Linked DNA regions of Homo sapiens: regions 2, 3 and 4 are each linked to region 1. Evidence: promoter capture Hi-C in 16 types of primary human blood cells and fetal thymus (Javierre and others, 2016). All regions are on one chromosome and are shown on one strand. The core of a region is centred on a gene start or on the middle of the fragment in contact, and the rest is flanking DNA. Distances in the headings are between cores, read along the strand shown. Region 1 holds the start of BBX (BBX high mobility group box domain containing). Region 2 overlaps MYH15 (myosin heavy chain 15). Region 3 overlaps LINC01215 (long intergenic non-protein coding RNA 1215). Region 4 overlaps CD47 (CD47 molecule).

Evidence for each region. The method cuts DNA at HindIII sites, captures the fragments that hold promoters and counts their contacts. A CHiCAGO score of 5 or more calls a contact.
Region 2: a fragment that was not itself captured here is called in contact with the fragment with the promoter of BBX in region 1 in 4 of 17 cell types (M0 macrophages, M2 macrophages, total B cells and 1 more); the score reaches 8.6 in M0 macrophages.
Region 3: a fragment that was not itself captured here is called in contact with the fragment with the promoter of BBX in region 1 in 1 of 17 cell types (fetal thymus); the score reaches 5.1 in fetal thymus.
Region 4: a fragment that was not itself captured here is called in contact with the fragment with the promoter of BBX in region 1 in 1 of 17 cell types (fetal thymus); the score reaches 7.4 in fetal thymus.

The regions. Positions count from the first base shown.
Region 1 is chr3:107,520,550-107,524,936 of GRCh38, forward strand. BBX (BBX high mobility group box domain containing) reads left to right here and starts at 2,413. Exons shown (of 18, transcript NM_001142568.3): 1 at 2,413-2,558. RefSeq lists an enhancer at 2,030-2,079 and silencers at 2,480-2,789, 2,820-2,909, 3,020-3,089. The HindIII fragment of the contact is 5,936 bases long and covers 1,340-4,387 here.
Region 2 is chr3:108,477,650-108,482,036 of GRCh38, forward strand. The region is part of intron 11 of MYH15 (myosin heavy chain 15); the gene reads right to left. Among named protein-coding and RNA genes, the nearest start is that of MYH15, 31 kb to the right of the region's middle. The HindIII fragment of the contact is 2,077 bases long and covers 1,234-3,310 here.
Region 3 is chr3:108,129,881-108,134,267 of GRCh38, forward strand. The region is part of intron 1 of LINC01215 (long intergenic non-protein coding RNA 1215); the gene reads left to right. Among named protein-coding and RNA genes, the nearest start is that of LINC01215, 7.0 kb to the left of the region's middle. RefSeq lists an enhancer at 1,175-2,374 and a silencer at 4,043-4,202. The HindIII fragment of the contact is 1,460 bases long and covers 1,497-2,956 here.
Region 4 is chr3:108,084,487-108,088,873 of GRCh38, forward strand. All of the region lies in intron 1 of CD47 (CD47 molecule), which reads right to left. Among named protein-coding and RNA genes, the nearest start is that of CD47, 4.4 kb to the right of the region's middle. The HindIII fragment of the contact is 6,383 bases long and covers 1-4,387 here.

The DNA of each region.
Region 1 (4,387 bases), core at 1,163-3,662:
GAAGTTCATGATTTGGAGGGAAGGGTTGTCAAATTACTCAAAACCTGTGCTGGGTATTAAAAGTCCTCGGTTTAAGTTCCTTCTTCATTATCATTCTGTGCAATATGGAGCAGGCTATATAACTTGTCCCTGACTCATTTCTCCTATGGGTAAACTAGAGGTGATAATACTTAGCACTGACCTCAGAGCAGTGTAGTGTGGATAAAGAACATTTTGTTCCTTGTGTCAACTAAATGAAACTGCCATTAATAGACTTTTTTTTTTTTTTTGAGACGGAGTCTCGCCCTGTCCCCCAGGCAGGAGTGCAATGGTGCAGTCTGTACTCACTGCAACCTCCACCTCCTGGGTTCTAGTGATTCTCCTGCCTCAGCTTCCCGAATAGCTGGGATTACAGGTGCCACCACTACGTTCAGCTAATTTTTGTATTTTTAGTAGAGACGGGGGTTTCACCGTGTTGGACAGGCTGGTCTCGAACTCCTGACCTCAGGTCATCCACCCGCCTCCATCTCACAAAGTGCTGGGATTACAGATGTGAGCCACCGCGCCCACCCCTAATACAAACTTTGATATTATCTGTTTAAAATGCTGTGATTGGCTGGGCGCTGTGGCTCATGCCTGTAATCTCAACACTTTGGGAGGCCGAGGCAGGTGGACCACCTGAGGTCAGGAGTTCGAGACCAGCCTGACTAACATGGTGAAACTCTGTCTCTACAAAAATACAAAAATTAGCCAGGCATGATGGCAGGTGCCTGTAGTCCCAGCTTACTCGGGAGGCTGAGGTGGGAGAATCTCTTGAACCCGGGAGGCGGAGGTTGCAGTGAGCTGAGATCACGCCATTGAACTCCAGCCTGGGCTACAGGGTTAGACTCCATCTCAAAAATAAAATAAAATAAAATGCTGTGATTTTTTATATACTTTTCCTTTTAAAAATGATTTTTCTAAAAAAATAAACATCACATTTCTAAATACCACTTTGTTTTCTGAACTTTTTAAACTTTTCTGATTTTGTTTCTCTTTCTCCCTCTTACACAGGAGTGCTCACATGCACACATACACTCTTTTAACAACTTTATGGATGCGAGAGAAAAACCTTAAGACAGCATCAAGGAAATAAAAGGGGAACTGAAATAAGTTGCCCTAGTTGGGTTTTCTTTAAGTTTTAAAGCTACTTACCTAGGCCATAAAATCGTAGTGTTTATGTAATCTCCAAAATGTTTGTATTTGAGAATAATTCACCAACTCTTAAAACGGAAGGAACCCTAAGAAAACATCTAGGCCTAAGATAATGCCTGACACATAGTAGATGCTGAATAAACATTTAATTGAGGGAATCTGGAAAAGCTTCTTATTTTAATCTTAAAAATCAAAACCAAGTCTGAGCATTGGAGAGGTTAAGTAACTTGCTCAAGATTGCTCAGCTGGTTAAAGAGTTTAATCTACAATTTATTCCTTCTAATTTCCAGCTTTGACTTCTTTCCACCAACCTGTTGACTTATGTGTATTGAACTGTCTCATATAATCTTCTGAAGTTGCATTGTTGAAAAACAATCAGAAAGACCAGTCCTGAGGTTCATCATCTCCAAAAGTCATGCAACATATGATGTTCACATGAGATGTGAAATATGTAAAGAGTCATATATTTTTATATATAATATGCAAAATATAAATCATGTATATATTGAATCAAAGGTCTGTTTTGAAGGCTAAGGGTCAATAGCCAATCTTCCATGACTTATTTTACCTAACAGCACAGTTTGCATGTCCACACAGGTGATGGCAGTCCACTGACCAGTTAAAAGTTGTTTGGCTATTTCAGCAAAATGTTTATCTTTGTGTGTTGTTATATTGATTTTTTTGAATCTACCTACGAATGAGGCACTAACAACCTCAATGCATTAGAGTCCTGATAAACTTATCTTGCACTATTTTGGCCTATGTGATAGCTAACCCATTGACAAAAGAAATCCAAGGTGATAAAAGCCTTTCTTGGCCACTTGTTAGCCGGGTCAGGCTGTAAAATCGTAACACAATGCAGGCCTCTTCCATGGGGCACCAAAAGGCAGCGATGAAAAACCCCCCTCACTTCCATATCCAGTGGAGTTGTAGTTTATTACCATAACCCTCCCAAGTCAAAAGGACACCAGTTTCAAGCCTTGCAACTTGGTGCAGACAGGGGTTTTCCCCTTTACCCCACTCTGCTGGGCCTCTTTACCTGTCCTCTCCTACTGTCTACAGGTCCCGAACATTAGAAAATAGAAAATGTGATGATCTTTGTGTGTCTCTGTAAAATGTGTGTATGTGTGCGTGTGTTTGGGTGTAACGGGCCTCTTGTTTGGCTGCGCGGCCTGTCCGTCACTGCGCGGGCCAATGGCAGGCTGCCTTATATAAAATGAGTGTTTTCAGTCTCTCCGGGTTGCATGTACTGTATGTGGAGCAGTGTACAGTGAAGCGGAGGCAGAGCGGCTCCGCGAGCTTCTCTCCACTTTCCCATAGAGAAACCCTGACTGGCCGCTGAGGGCTAGCTACACACACGCCCTCACGCCCGGCGAGCCCGCGAGGTAGGCGCCCCCCATCCCCAGCCCTCCCTGGGCGCACTCCCCTCACTTTCTGTTTTCCTACTCACTTGCGAGCCGCCGGGCTGCAGCCCCAAGGACTCCGCGGCAGGAGCAGCGGCGGCGGCGGCGGCGGCGGCGGCGGCAGCCGGTAGGGTGGACTTGAGGAAGACGGAGGGAACCCCGCGCGTCCGGAGCCGCCGCCAGCCGGCCCGCTCCCTGGGCACTTTCCCCCTCCGCCAAAACTTTGGGTCGGGAGAGGTCGGGGGCGAGGGTCGCGGCGGCCGCGCCGGCTGGGGCCGGGGGGCGGGGGGCGCTGAGGCAGTGCCCTGCGAGCGGGAGGCTGGGGGCCGGGCTGGGGAGTAGTAGGCCAGCCGGTGCCAGGCTGCGTTTGCAACCAGCACCTCTCGGCACACAGGCAGCGCCGCCTGAGAGGGGCACGGGCGCCGGGGCGCGGGCTGGAGCGGCCCCAGGAAAACAACAACAGAGCCCTCACGCCGGCGGGCGGCTCGTGGCCGCCCGGGGAGCCCCAAACTTCATCTCGGCGAAAGTACGTGGAGCCCTGCCTGGTCTCGGCTGCCGGGGAGGTGGGGCCTGGGGAGCAGGGGCAGTGGAGGAAGGTACGAGGAGCCAGCCTTCGGTGGATTTATTGAACGTTTCGTCTGCGTTGGTGACCGGGAACAGCAGCCCAGTTGCTCGTTCATCTGGAGAGTTGGGATTTGGGTGTTCCGGCCCCGCAGATCAGTGCCCTCTCACCCCCCACCCCTACCCAAATGCGCGGCGAGTAGAGAAAGTGCTGTTTTAGTGCCAGAGTAGCCTGGAGGAAGAATAGGGGGAGAGGGGGAAGAGGGCGAGGGAGAAGGGGAGAGAGAAGAGGGAGGGAAGGGGGGGGAGAGAGGGAGACAGAGAGAGAGGGAGAGAGAGAACGGGAGGGAAGAGAGGAGGGGGAAGAGGAGGAGGGAGGCTGTGTCAGGATTTTGCTTGAATGTGGGATTATGTTGTGTCAATAAGTTTAAGGTGGAGAGAGCGAGGCTGAGGGTGGTGGTGGAGGGGAGGAGGAAGGCCTTGGCCGTTTAAAGTCTTATTTCTGAAGGTAAGTTACGGCTTTGCCTGGTCGCGATGACAGAAAACTTGCAGATCCTTTATCCGGGGATGGGGTCGATGCCTCTAGAAAGAGCTCCCTAGCCCTCTTAAGCCACACTCGTGTTACACTGTTATTTGCTGCGATCCGGGTCGCTAGTAAATTACAGAAATCAGACTCGAGGTTTCTTTTCCTCCTCCACCTCGTCTCGCTCACTCACCCTCTGAAATTTATTATCATATTTTATTTATTTTTTGGTATTGTATGAAACTTAACATAACTGAGACCGAACCCGAGTCCTGTAATTTACAAGGACCCTGAATCCCAGAATCTGGAACACGTTTATGTGTGAAATAGCCGCGATCATTTCTGCTAAATGAGGAAGGTAAAACGAAACGATGCAAAAAGCTAAGACACAACATGTACGACAGAGGGGGGGGGGGGGAGAGGGAGAGACAGAGAGAGAAGCTATTTTTTGCTTTCCTTTCTGTAGGAAGGAAAATAAAGCGTGCATTCCCCTTCCTTCCCAGTGTGTAGGGTCTAGTCAATATTTTAACTGTCTGTGGACAAATTAGTCCAGGTGGATCTTGTTGAAAAGTTTCGCGAGGTGGGGTGGAGGTGGGGGGGGGGGCGAAGGGGAAGGTGGGTGGAGGTTGTGGGGGATGGGGACGGAGCGAGCTCTGCCTCTGCTAATGGTCATTGGCCTGGGGCTTTGAAACCATTGCCTGTCCTGCTAATGACACGTCCAGTTCTC
Region 2 (4,387 bases), core at 1,022-3,521, 960 kb after region 1:
CAAGCACCAATCAACAGAAGCCAGGACACTTGCCAGCTATCTGTAAAACACCCTTCCTTTCCCGGCAAGGTCTCTGTTTGCTCCGTAGTGCCCTCTGCTGCCCAACAATAATACTTACACCCCACAAAATTGTTTTATGAAACAAAGCTTCCATTTCCTCAAGAAGTGGAGAATAAGTATTATCAGAAGGAAAAGTAAATAGGCATGTATCACTTCAGGTATGAAAAAATGACACAAAATAATGACACAGGCAAAAATTTATAAGCTTATTTCAAATTGTAGATTATTTCAGTTACCAACAAAATAAATATTCCACTCATCCAAAACCCCTCTCTGCTTTCTATTTTAAAGGAATTTGGAGATATGCTAGTATGTCTGGCATAGTCATTCTGTTGAATAATGTCTTATAATAGAAGGTAATGCAGCCTTTCTTTAATTCACTAAAGAAAAAAAAAGCTGCAAATTTTCCAGAGCAATAATCACGAACAGAAAATAAAGTAAAAACAAAACACAATTAGAGAGCTCTATCTCGTCTGTATTAGCAATATCAATTTCCTTTTCACAGCCTTTAAAATGTTTACAAGGCTTAAAATGTTTGAAATGTTTGATTTTCTTATAAACTAAAATCAATATATATAATACATACATTGCTACAAGTTACATACCTACTTTATGTTAGTTTATTTGCAGTGATAATAGCCTGGGTACTTGGTTGCTATGAAACCTTTCAAAACACAAAGCCTATTTGGAAAAATAAATGAAAATCAAAGGTAGAGCAGACATGCCCATCCTATACTGAGATGTGCCTGCTAACAGTGCCAGGTTTGGCGGCAAAAGCTTGATAATTTCAAATTGAGAATCCAGTATGTCAAATCATAGACTTTTTGAACTGAAAGAGACTTTATAGAGTATCTAATCCAATGTGAAAATATTTAAAAGACGGGAAGAAATACAATGTGCCTGGCAACCTGAGTGGAGATGAACAGTAACCAACAATGTGAAAAACAATTTTCCAGTATCTGTCCAGGTTTAAAAAAAAAAAAAGAGAAACATTTGTTTTTTCTAAGCTTTGGAAGCATGAAGAGAGATAATACAGGTAATAATAGTCTCAAAGAATAGTTCCCCATGCCGAGTCTTCATATATCCTTTTTCCAGTGTTAAGCACAGTCCTTTGAGTCTATTTTTATCCATGAACAAAAGAAATTCAGATTCTCTGAGGAGTATCCCACCTTAAGCTTAACAGAAATAGCATCTAACATTACAGGATTATTTGTCACTTACTCCAGAGATAGTTGAGTATCTACAGACAGGACTAGTGTACCCTGGATTTACTCCAGAGATTTACATTATACATCACATATGTTCTCTGTTTTGGGGGGAAAGAGGAAACAATAGAGGTCATCATGTTCCAAAAAGTAAATTACTTCATTTGCACTAAATGTTTACAGTTTGCAACCAAGATGAAAATGGCGTAAATCTATGACTAAATGCCCATCTGACATTCAGGAACTACTGTTGTAAAGATAGCAATATGTGTAAACATATTTTAATCATATTCCCAAATAGGCTTTATGAAATTCCCACCCATAAGCATCAGTTCCTTCAGGACCTTGTGAATGAACCCATGGACTTCAATTAGGCTGCATGATCTTACCTGGGAGAGGTAACATTTAGCTAGAGAGGTGGTTCTCAAGCATCAGTGTGTATTGGAATAGCCTGGAGAGCTAATCAAAGATTAAACAACAGGCTCCCTGAAGCAGGTTAGGGGCTGGGCCGCTCTAGTTTTATCGTGTTACCCAGGTGATTCTGATACACATACAAGTTTGAGAACAAAGTTGTTATTGTGGTAGTCCTCAACTTTGACTGCACACTGGGGTCCCTGGCAAGTTGTAAAAACAAATACTGATGCCTGAAATTCACCCACAGAAATCTGGCTTGTCTGGCTTGGGTAAGGCCTGAGCTTCAGGATTTTAAAAGTTCCCCAGCGATTCTGTTGAGCAGCCAAGTTTGCAAACTACTGTCTAGAGAATAATAACCAGGTTTCGTAAGTTTATTTTGAAATCAGGAAGATGGAAAGAACAAAGTATGACTTCACCTGAAAACAGGTAAAAAGGTAGAGAAACTCAAAAAGGAATCTTTTCCAAATTTCCAATTCTGTCCCAGTTCAGTCCCATCTGCAAATAACCAGATATGAAAGAATGAAGCAAAATCCAGTTTTGTCAGTCTACAGGGGTTATGATAAAGATATTAATCTCTTTTATGGAAGGTTATAATACAATTTTTGAGCTGTTCATATTTCATTAATTTATTAAACAAAGTTAACTGAGCATTTGCTATGTGTAAGCCCTGATGCTAGATAATGTAATAAGAAGATAAATAAACAAGGCAAAAATCCCTGGCATCAAGAAATTATAATCTATGAGAGTAAATAAGACATGGGAAAAAATAGTATGTCAGTAAAACAACTGCATAAGAGACACACAAATCGAGTATCACAAAACTGTGAAGTAGGGAAAGAGCCCTTCTGGACTGCATGACTGGGGAAGGATTAAAAAAGAAACAACATTCAATCTGAGCCTTGAAGGATGACAAGAGTTTTTGTAGGCAAATATGGGAGAAGAAGAGTTTCCTTAACAATGAACAGCACGACTTGAAGCCACAGGCGTTGAAGAGTACAAGGTATGGTCAAAGAAGAGGTTGTAACCCAGAGGGACTGGACTACGATACCAGGGAGTGAGTGAGAAACTGAGAAAAGCGGGTGACTTCTGGTCGCAGAAGACATCTAATGCCGCTATAACATATTAATTAAAGAATGGGGAAATGTTAAAGGAGCTGTAAGCAGAGAAATGACATAATTAGAGTCATGCTTTAGGATGCTTAATTTTGGAAATGTGCAAGACAGACCAGAGTAGGAAGTTTTAAAGTACAGAGTGAACCCATTGCAGAATGCTGAAGTGTGAGATGCTGAAGCTCCAAATTTGTAATGAGAAAGGGAGAAAGAGAGACTGAGAAATATGACTAGGAGGTTTCCAGTCTGAGAAGTAGAAAGAAGAACAATACCATAAATATGAATAGAAATGCCAATAGGAAGACATCACTTAGGGGAGAAGATGATGGACTTTTAGCCATGCAGAGTTTAGGATACTAGAAAATATGCAGCTGAGAGTTGGAAATATGGAGTTGGAACTCAAGAAAGAGGCAAAGGCTAAGATGCCCCTTTGGGTTTGGGTGCCCTTCCCCGTTCCTTCTTCTCCATCTGTCCAGCTCCTTCAAAACCTTCCTAAATAATTAACTGGGAAAAATTTACCAAAGCTTAATATATTAAGAACCCTTAGAATTAAAGAAAAATTCAACACCTCCATTTTTAAAATGAGCTAAAGGTAGAAGCATACTGAAAAAAACTCAGTATCCAGTAAGATGCTTAAGTTAATTATGGTACATTCATACAATGGAATATTTTGTAGCCATCTAAAAAGATATTGCAGAAAAGACAAAAAGATGTTCACATATAATTTGGTAAAAAAATACTAGGCTGAAACAACATGAATATGATCACATTTTTATTTTAAAAAGTTATATGTGCATATTCAACTAGAAAATGCGTAAAAAATATGTCCTTTGGCATTCACAGTGATTGTCTCTGAGTAGGTAGGGTTCACTTAATGAATAATTAGCCATTACTATGTGCCAGGCACATTTTAAAACCTGGAAATATAGCAGTGAACACACCAAATGAGGTCCCTGCTCTTACAAAGCTTACATCTGGTGGAGATTGAGGGGTGGAGGCTAGGACATTCAATAAAAACTAGCTGTATGAATGACATGAAGAAAAATATTTAGATTAGGGGGATAGTGGTGGAGGTAGCTAGAGAAGGCTTTTCTAATAAGGTAACATCCAAGAAGTTACTTTAATAAGTGAGGGAGTAAGACATGAGGACAGGAGAAAAGTTCCAGGCAGAAAGAAGAGTTAGTGAAAATAGTCCTGCAATAGGAGTGCTTACATGCTCCAAAAACATCCAAGAGGCCAGGACATGTGAGTGGAGGGAAATGAGAGACGAGAAAATGATAGATTTCGCTACTAACGGTAGGGATTAGAGAGAGACAGAGAAGTATTGGTTGGTGCAAACATAATTGCGGTTTTTGCTGTTAAAAGTAATGACAAAAACCAAAATTACATTTGCACCAACCTAATATCATAGAGGTTAAGGAAGCTGTGACAGGAACGTGGGGTTTTATTTGGAGCCATTGTTGAGTTTAGAGCAGAAGCAGGACATGGTGGAACAAGGGCTGACTGACACTGTGAAAGGACTGACAGTAGCTTCTGGGTGCAGAGCTATCCACCTATCCATCGTAGGCAAGGATGCAAGCAGGGAGACCAGGAAGGAGG
Region 3 (4,387 bases), core at 977-3,476, 610 kb after region 1:
ATCTAAATCCTTACCTATCTATATATAAGTATTACTGCATTTGCTTTTGGATCCTAACAATAAACTCAGTGCTCATTGACCTTAACAAATAGGGTTTTATTCTTTCTCCCATAAAAAGAAATCTGTAGGTAGGCAACTATCAGCATAGGTTCAGGGTTTTAGCAACAGATCTTTGTGATTCTCTTGCTACTTTCCTTGTAGTTACAGAATGGCTGTTGTTCCAGGCATTGTCTTCAATATTATTTGGAGGTAATTCATCAGGAAATATAAAACTCTCTAAGTAGTCTCCCCCAGAAGAATTCCATGTACATTTCATGGGCCAGACAGGATGACATGACTGTCCCTAGCTTCAAGAAAGATGGGCAAACCACATATTTTATTTTCCAGCCTCTGTGCTGGGAGGCAGCAAGGGAGAAGGGGTTAGACATAGCTTTTAGGTAGCTTGCCAATAGGGAATGGTACTTAGACCTAAAAGATAGCAGTACTAGTTTTCTAGAGGTTAAAATAATACTCGATGTTCTCAAGCATGAGCAGAAATATCCTGCGTTCACTCCTTTACTACTCACTTCCGCTTTCTAATAAAAAGAATTTGATAAATATAATGAGCATCTCAGTATATTTGCCAGGTGAGTGTGGATTCTACACGTTTGTGCTTTAGCAAAATAAATTACTACTTTGAATTTTAATAGACTTATGTCTTAAAATCCAGTCATTGGATAGATTTAAGGTGAAATGCTGTTGATACATTACTATTCATTGTAGGATTAACCCAACAATCCACCACAATTTAAATGAGAATTTAAAAATCAAATTAACAGTGAGTTATAATGAAAGGTAAGAATGGCAGAAATGGAAATCTCCAGCCCACTCATGATAACAACACTCAAAATGTATAGCCTATTTACTAAAAATTACAGAAGTTCCAAACTATCTCCTTGTCTCTAAGTGAGTCACATGCCAGAATTAACAGTTCTTTGGTGCTATGCAATCTTCTTAGTATAGCACAGAATTAAGTCATTGGTAAACTGTAATAATGTGCTAATTTTAGATCATTATGCCATAATGTAGTAATCCTTAGTAAATACTTAGTAAGTTACTAGAAAGTAGCTCTTCATCATATGCAAAAAATAAAACTGAAGACATTGCATGTCATTGGCTTCCAAGAATTGGAGAAAGGAAATTTTAGAGTCAGTTTTTGGTTCATCTATAGGACAGTATGTTGGATCATATTGTAAAGAATTGAGATGCATAGATGAGAGCACTAGTTTGAAATCAACAGCTGGATTTGACTCCATTCCACCTCTGACAACTTAGGACAAGTGTCTTAAGCCCTGCATAGCCCAGTTTCCTCATTATTAGACTGGCAACTACTAACACAGAAACTATTCTACTTACAATATGGTTGTAATTGAATCTGTTTGTTGGAAATTCCAAAGTGACTAAGCTTGCTGTCACAAATGCACTTCCAGGAATAGGAGCATGAATCAGTTTCTCAAAGCTTTTAATAAAAGCTGGTGTTCTTGTTTATGCATGTTCAATGCCATGTCTGCCTAGGTGATAAAATAATGTTTGGTGCATAGAAGGCACTAAAAATATAGCTTTTGAATGAGTGAAGGACATTTTCCCCAAAATTATTGTCATTTGTCATTTGTCTCTGCTGGAAGTCTGTGGGGGCAGATAACTGTTCTTGGGGATCTCCCAAGTGTCCTGAGGAGGTCCTTAGGAGCCACAGCCTGCATTCTCGTCGCCTCGCCCCTCATGTGGATGTGAACCAGACTGGAAGAGGCATCCCTTTGCCTTGAGGCAACAGTTTCAAGAGCAGAGTCTCTTTGGCCAGCTCTTAAACTTCTCCCAAGTTAGCCCTCCCCGGAATGAACAGGAGGCTCCTCTGCCCATCTAGTGTCAAGGTGCCGACTCAAGAAGTCATCCTTTGTCTTCCTCTTCCATTCTCTTGCTGATATTGTCCACGGACACAGGCACAGCACTTTTGTACGTTGCACGATTTGCTCTTTGCCCTTTATAATCATTTCTACTATTGAATAATTCATCCTATATTCGTGTGAAGAGTTCCTCTTTTTCTCATCACTTCCAGTTTTTAAAAATCTCTTCTGTTTCCATGGTAATTGTATATATCAACAAGGACTTTGAACACTCTCCATTTTCTTGGATTTATTGAATCTGATGTGGTTAATAATGCTTGGGAAAACTTCTCAAAAAAAACTCTCACAAACACAGCAAATGCATTGATGGTGAACAGCACAGTTTTTGAGTTCAAAAGGCAGCAGTGTACATTCCATATCATCTGCTGTTACCATGTAGTATGTTCTCACAGGAGAGCTTGGGATTTTATCTGTGAATATCCATAGGTTGAAAGTTGGTAAGCAAAAGAACATCTGTAACTAACCTACTCTTTTTCTGCAGGTTTGTTGTTGGGATAAAAGTTAACGTGCTCTAGTGCACTGTAGCCTATAAAATGTTATCCTTTCTGTGACGCATGCCCCATTTCCACCATGCCATGTGGGGACACAAGGAACAGATCTTTGTCCACAGGAAAAGTGGAAACTCAGAGTTGAATTTCCTCTTCACTCCAAAGCATGACTATGCATGCACACACACACACACACACACACACACACACACACACACGTGCGCGCACACACACACATGCACTCAAACTCCTAAGAGCTGGAGGCAGGGATCCTGGCTCAGAGTTAGAGCTCTCACAACAGGAAGGATAGAGACAAAATTCCTAGTTGCTGATCACTTGCTAACTCTCTTCATTTTCAGAAGAAAACACCTCCTGGCATTTGCTTAATGGAAGGCACCTTTCTAGTCAATCACTTGACAAGTGTTCTGAATTGGATTTTAAAAGGACAGAGGTTGAGATTAGGGTTAGGGATTTTTATTACATCTCAAAGTGCCTGTATAAATTACACAGTGGGGATTTTCAGTTGAAAGCTTTTCCAGTTAATAAACAGGAGACTCATGTATCGGCATTTTTGTAATGCTATAAGAATGGGGAAGTGTAGGTTCTGGCACGTATTCATGTAAACAAAAAGTGAGTGACGAATTTTTACCTTGAGTTTTAGAATCACACTCTTATAAATAATTTACATACAAGGAGAGATCATAGAGATAACCTGTAGAAAAACAGAAAGATGAATTTTTTCCAGCTAAACTTGTCTTGGTGCAGAACTATCTTGGGCATATCAGATTTTATAAAGATACTTTTCCTCTTACATTTCACACTTCACTTTCACTATCCAGAAGCCAAGTGGAGGCATTTTCCCTGATGAGTGGGAGTTGTAAGGACTAGCTCAAGAGTAGAATAGGCTTAGGCAAAACTATAATGTAGGGGAAATCATCCATGTAACCTGAATCCTATTTTAGTGTCTTGAGCCTAAGCCCTATCTTAATCCCCAGAACCCCAAAGTTCTGCAGACAAAAAGTTCCCCATAGAAGTGGCCTCCTGATCTTTAAACAGAGCCATGGGCTTAATCTTCCTTTTGCTGCCATCTAAAATTTAATAATTCTAATATTCATTTCCTCAGGGCCTTAGCTTGTGGACAAGCTAATGTATGCCAACATACCCAGAGTTCTTATGATCTAAAAGTGTTATTCTCCTGGGTAAGTGGTAAGTAGTTTGCATTTCAACAAGGATAAATAAATGCCTTGGTTCAAAAGAATGACAGGGTAGGGTTGTTAAAAATATTACTTCCTCCAGGAAGCTTCTGCCTCCCTCTACCCTCATGGATTAGAAGTTCCCAGGAAGGCTCCTATGTAAAGCATGCTTCTCCTGTCATGGTATTTGGCACCCGTCATTGACAACACTTGTTTAATAAGCTCTGTGGGTACAGCCCCATGTATATTCATACACATATACTGTTGTATTAATTCCCACCACCCGGCTCCCTGATGGAACACTTGAAGGACATTAATAAATACTGTCTGTTGAAGAATGAACAAAGCTAAGGGTTTCAGGGACTCTAGAAAGATAATAGAGTGAGGGAGAGACAAGCAGTATTTGAAGGCCAGATGGCTTTCACTGATGCTTCCTACTTGGTTATTTTATAACTGACAAACCTCTGAAAATGCCACTTAAAAGTAATAGTTTTCAGTATCACTTTAAGTGCTTTAGAATCACACTCAGCATTGGATGTAAATGGTTAAGGAGGGTAGCCTCGGTCTGCTACTGCCATAGATACCTTTAATATACAGAAATTACACAGAAAGTGTCATGGCATTCTTGTTTTACCCAGTGAGAAAATCCACTGTTCAAATCGAAACCAATATGGAAATTACTCCTTCCATCAAAAGGAGCAGAGGACGAAAACAAAAACAAAAACAAAAACAAAATCTCCTCAGCTCCACAGTGATGACATAGAAA
Region 4 (4,387 bases), core at 1,298-3,797, 560 kb after region 1:
CCCCTAGTATTTTCCCTGACTCCCATGGTTTTCTTCACCTGCAAACTTTTAAATAAAAAACTGAATCATGCACTGCCTTTCTTCTAAACTGCAGATGTTGGACAGCCAACTGTCTGCTGTGCACTTCCACTTGGATGTAATACAGTTACTTCAAAGTCAGTATGTCCAAAAACTTACGTACCCCCACTTCTTACCCTCAGCCTAAATCACTTTGCTAAAGTATTTTCTATCATCTACCAGTGAACCAGACCTGGACCTAAGAATCACATTAGATTACTCCCTCTCCTTAGCCATGGAGAATTCTTAGTAGGTTCAACCTAATTAATAGTTCCTAAATCCAATGTCTGTTGAATGAATGAATTAGACACTCATCCTCCCCCCTCGAACTACTGCCATACCCTTCTAACCAGCTCCCTGCCTCCATCCTCAAGGTTTCTCCATCCTGGCCCTGATGTATTTTCTACAGTTCCCAAAATAACTGTTCTAAATGCAAATGTGCACTCCTTTGCCTAAGATACTTTAACAACACCCTCAACCCTTTTCAGGCTAAATTCTAAGTACATTAGCATGGAATACAAACGAGGTCCTTCAAGATCCTTTCCAGCCCCACCTCCTGTACTCCCTCATTTCCACACTAAGCTCCAATCATAATGACGTTATTGCAATTCCATGACTATGCAAATGCACTCTCATCCCCATGCCTTAGCACATACTGTTCCTCAAACCTAAATAGCCTCTTAACTGTTATACACTATTACCCCACTGAGTACATAGGGTGTATAATAGTTAAGTGCACACATTAAGGGGTCGACCCTAGTTTAAGATTCACCTCATGTACTTCTTAGCTGTATAACCTTAGGCAAGTTACTTACCTCTGCTCCTCAGTTTCCTCATCTATAAAATGTGCATAGTGATGGTATATACCTCATAGAGATATTGTTAAGATTTAATAAGATAACATGTTTTTGTATCACCTTTCACATATACAGCAAGTACTCAATAAATGGCAGCTACAGTTTGCTAACTTTTGCTCTTCCTACTAAAGCACAGTTGAGTTGTTCAATCTTGTTCCCCTTCCCTACCATTACTCAATTGTATTCTTCCCCTCCTTATTGCTCCCATTGCCTTGTGTTCAAATGTTGTCACTGTACCTACTACTGTGTAATTACTATTTTACTTAACTGATCTCTCCAGGCTCAGAAAGTAAGACACTGTCTTCATTTGGTATCCTAAGAATCTAACACAGGGTCCAGAAAGTAGGATTCAATACCTTCCTTGTGAATGTAAAAAGTTTAAAGTATAAATTCCATAGAAGAAAAATCTAAAAATCATGTGGGAGAAGATAGATTTTTCTTCTGTATTTCAAGAGAACCTGCCACTGCTTCTCACTTGTATAGACTTGATTATGAAATCATGAAGCTGCATATTTTCATGGAAAATCTCAAGTCACTTGTATGGTTGGATAGAAAAGTTCCTTAAAAATCACAAGAATGTGTCTATGAATGATCTTCCTAGAGGGTGATGTTTAAACTGGGTCTTAAAGGATGAGTAAGAATGTTATGGGAAAGAAGGGGCTTTCTAGGCAGAGTAACGTGTACAGCCAGATAAAGAAAGTGAAGAACTGAAAGCAGAGAATTATTTAGGTGAGCTCTAGGAAATGAGGTTGGAAAAGATGAATAAGAAAAATTCTAAAGGGCTTCCTTGAATGTCATGCTGAGTTTAGACTTGATAACATAAACAACTGTAAACCACTCAGATTTAATTTCATTAAAAAAAAAACATTGACAGCAGTGTAAAGGAAGGACTGAGGGCAGCAAGGGAAAAGAGAAAGGGAGATCCGTTAACAGACTACTGCAATAGTCCAGGTAAAGAACAACTGGAGAGAAGACCTAAAACTTACAGTAATCAACAGAAGTTAGTTGTGGGAAGCAGGGGAGATAAAGAGGGGAAAATTAAAATTGTGAACCAAAATAGTATGTGTAGCTAGTTAGATGGTAGGCTAATTATAGAGAAAAGAGGCTTAAATATTTGGGGAGAATATCTTTCCATCTGTCAATGGACTAGTGAGATCTGATGCACACTATGTTTGAGAAATGAGAGAGAAACAAGATGGCTTTATCAAGCACTTAAAATATATTAAGTGGCAGTGATTCTTTTACAATAAATTTGGCAGTGTAAGAAAGCAGAGAAGGCAACAACTGACAATGTGCAGGCAGGAACAAGGGCAAGGACATTTTGGTTCTTGAGGTTTTTTGTTTTATTTTTTAATATGGGGTAAAATTTGATCATGTGTGCAAGCTACGGGGAAGGAGTCAATGGAGAGGGAAAGATCTAAGATGCAAGACTGAAGAATTATGCTGACTGAGCAGGTCTCCAAGATGGTAGAAGTGAAAAGGTGGTAGACAGGTTGTCCTTTCGTTGGAAAAGTGAGTAGGTTTTCTTCTGAAGCTGGATGACGGAAGAGAATGAGACGAAGGTTATCTAAGATGTTATAGATCAGTTTAGTAATGGTGGGAGGGAAGCAGAGGGAGTCCAAACCACACACCACTATTTTTTGCAGTAGAGTAGGAAGTTAATTATCTGCTGGGAATGGATGTTCAGGAATGGAGTAAGAAGTCTCAGCAGCCTCTTAGGTAAAGAAGCAAAGATCATCAGTAAAGACACATGCCAGAAAGCAATCCTACCTACTTTTGCCCCTTAGAACTAGTGTCTGGCTTGAAGAACTGGAGTCTCTAGCTACACTGGGTTACGTACAAAAAGGATGAAGTCAGATCTCTCCTCAATGGACACTAAAATAAAGGTCTGGGGTAGAGTGGGGTGTCCACAAGTTGTACTTAGTTCTGACCCAACGCAATCCCCCTAATGAATTTAAAAGTGGCCTTATAAGAATGGAAGAGGCCAACTTAGAATTAAAAAGGGCAGGGCAGTTTAAAGTCAATAACATCCAGAATTATGGCCTTAACAAGCACCTAAGTACCATGAGGGAATAAAAACAAGATATCCCTACTGTCTATATACTACATCTTAAGTCATTAAGAGACATACTGACATACTGTCTGAAATTTGTCTATATGCCAAAGAGGGCTTTGCAAACTGCTTGGTGTGTAGTATAGGCTCATACTTGCTTGAAATGGAAAAAAGTGGTTTTGACAGGCCTTGAACTAGCCAAACCCCTTGCTTTACCTTTTAACCTACAAGTGTGATATATATTCAAATATGCACATTAATTCTCCTAATCTGAATCTCAAACCATGAGATTGACCAGATTCTGAGTCTTATGCAACTGCTCCATGGATTTGGAATGAAATATTCAGAGGTGGGTGTAGCTTGATTTCTGTTTCAACACTGTATAATCGTAAAGAGGAAAAACCCAGATTCTATTGTCTTAGTCTAGGTATATCAGAATCAAATTTCCTGGGTGCTCTGTATTTTCTACTTTAGTACTACAATGAGTTTAACAAAACTGATCCTACACTATTATTCTTGTTCTTTTTATCACAGAAGAAATATCTACACTAGTATACAAAGTGAAAGTAACTTTATGATAACCCAAGACGATATTATTAAAATCAGACTGAGAGATAAGATATGAAAATAGAAATGTTTATCTTGTATAAAAAGGTAGGCAGAAACCTAAGACAGGGAAAGTGATTGAAAATTATGCCACAAAAAGAACATTACTATATTAAAAGCAATGCCTATATACTAGCTATAGCTGAATTCATACTATGAAATGCAAATCTAGTTTTGCGAATATGCGTGATTATTTTGGATTTAGAATATGTATCAATTTGGGGGGAAAGTCATCTATCTCTCATCTTTAGAACTTGGCCTTTCAAATCTCCATGAACAACTCAGTGACAAAGATAAAACATCTGCCAAAACACAGATGACAGCATGAGCAAGTGTCCTAATGGTAGGCATTTAGTGTAATGCTTTAAAAAACACTGCCTCTAGACTGCTGGGGCGGCCCCATAAATACGTACTTTTAAATAGGCATTTACTTCCTTAAAATGGCAACTTGTAATTAAAAATAATATATTCTTTAAGAGAAAACATTTTTATTTAAACAAGCCAAATTACTACTAGACTTAGACGATGGAAAAAAATTTTATTTAATCATATGTACCCTGATTTAAAAAAAAAAACAACTCATTTTGAACAAAGAGGAATCATTCAACCACTGAAAAGACAGTTCACAACACCATCATTATTTATTTAAAGTTTTATTTGCTAGCTAATAAATACCACTGAAACTATGCACTTTTAAACAAAGTATAATTGTACATGAGTGGGGGCAGAGTGGAATGCAACATAGTAATTCATTTCACATCTTGCATACCATTAAGGTGCCTTCCAGTTTGCCTGTAATTGCATGAAATGAGTA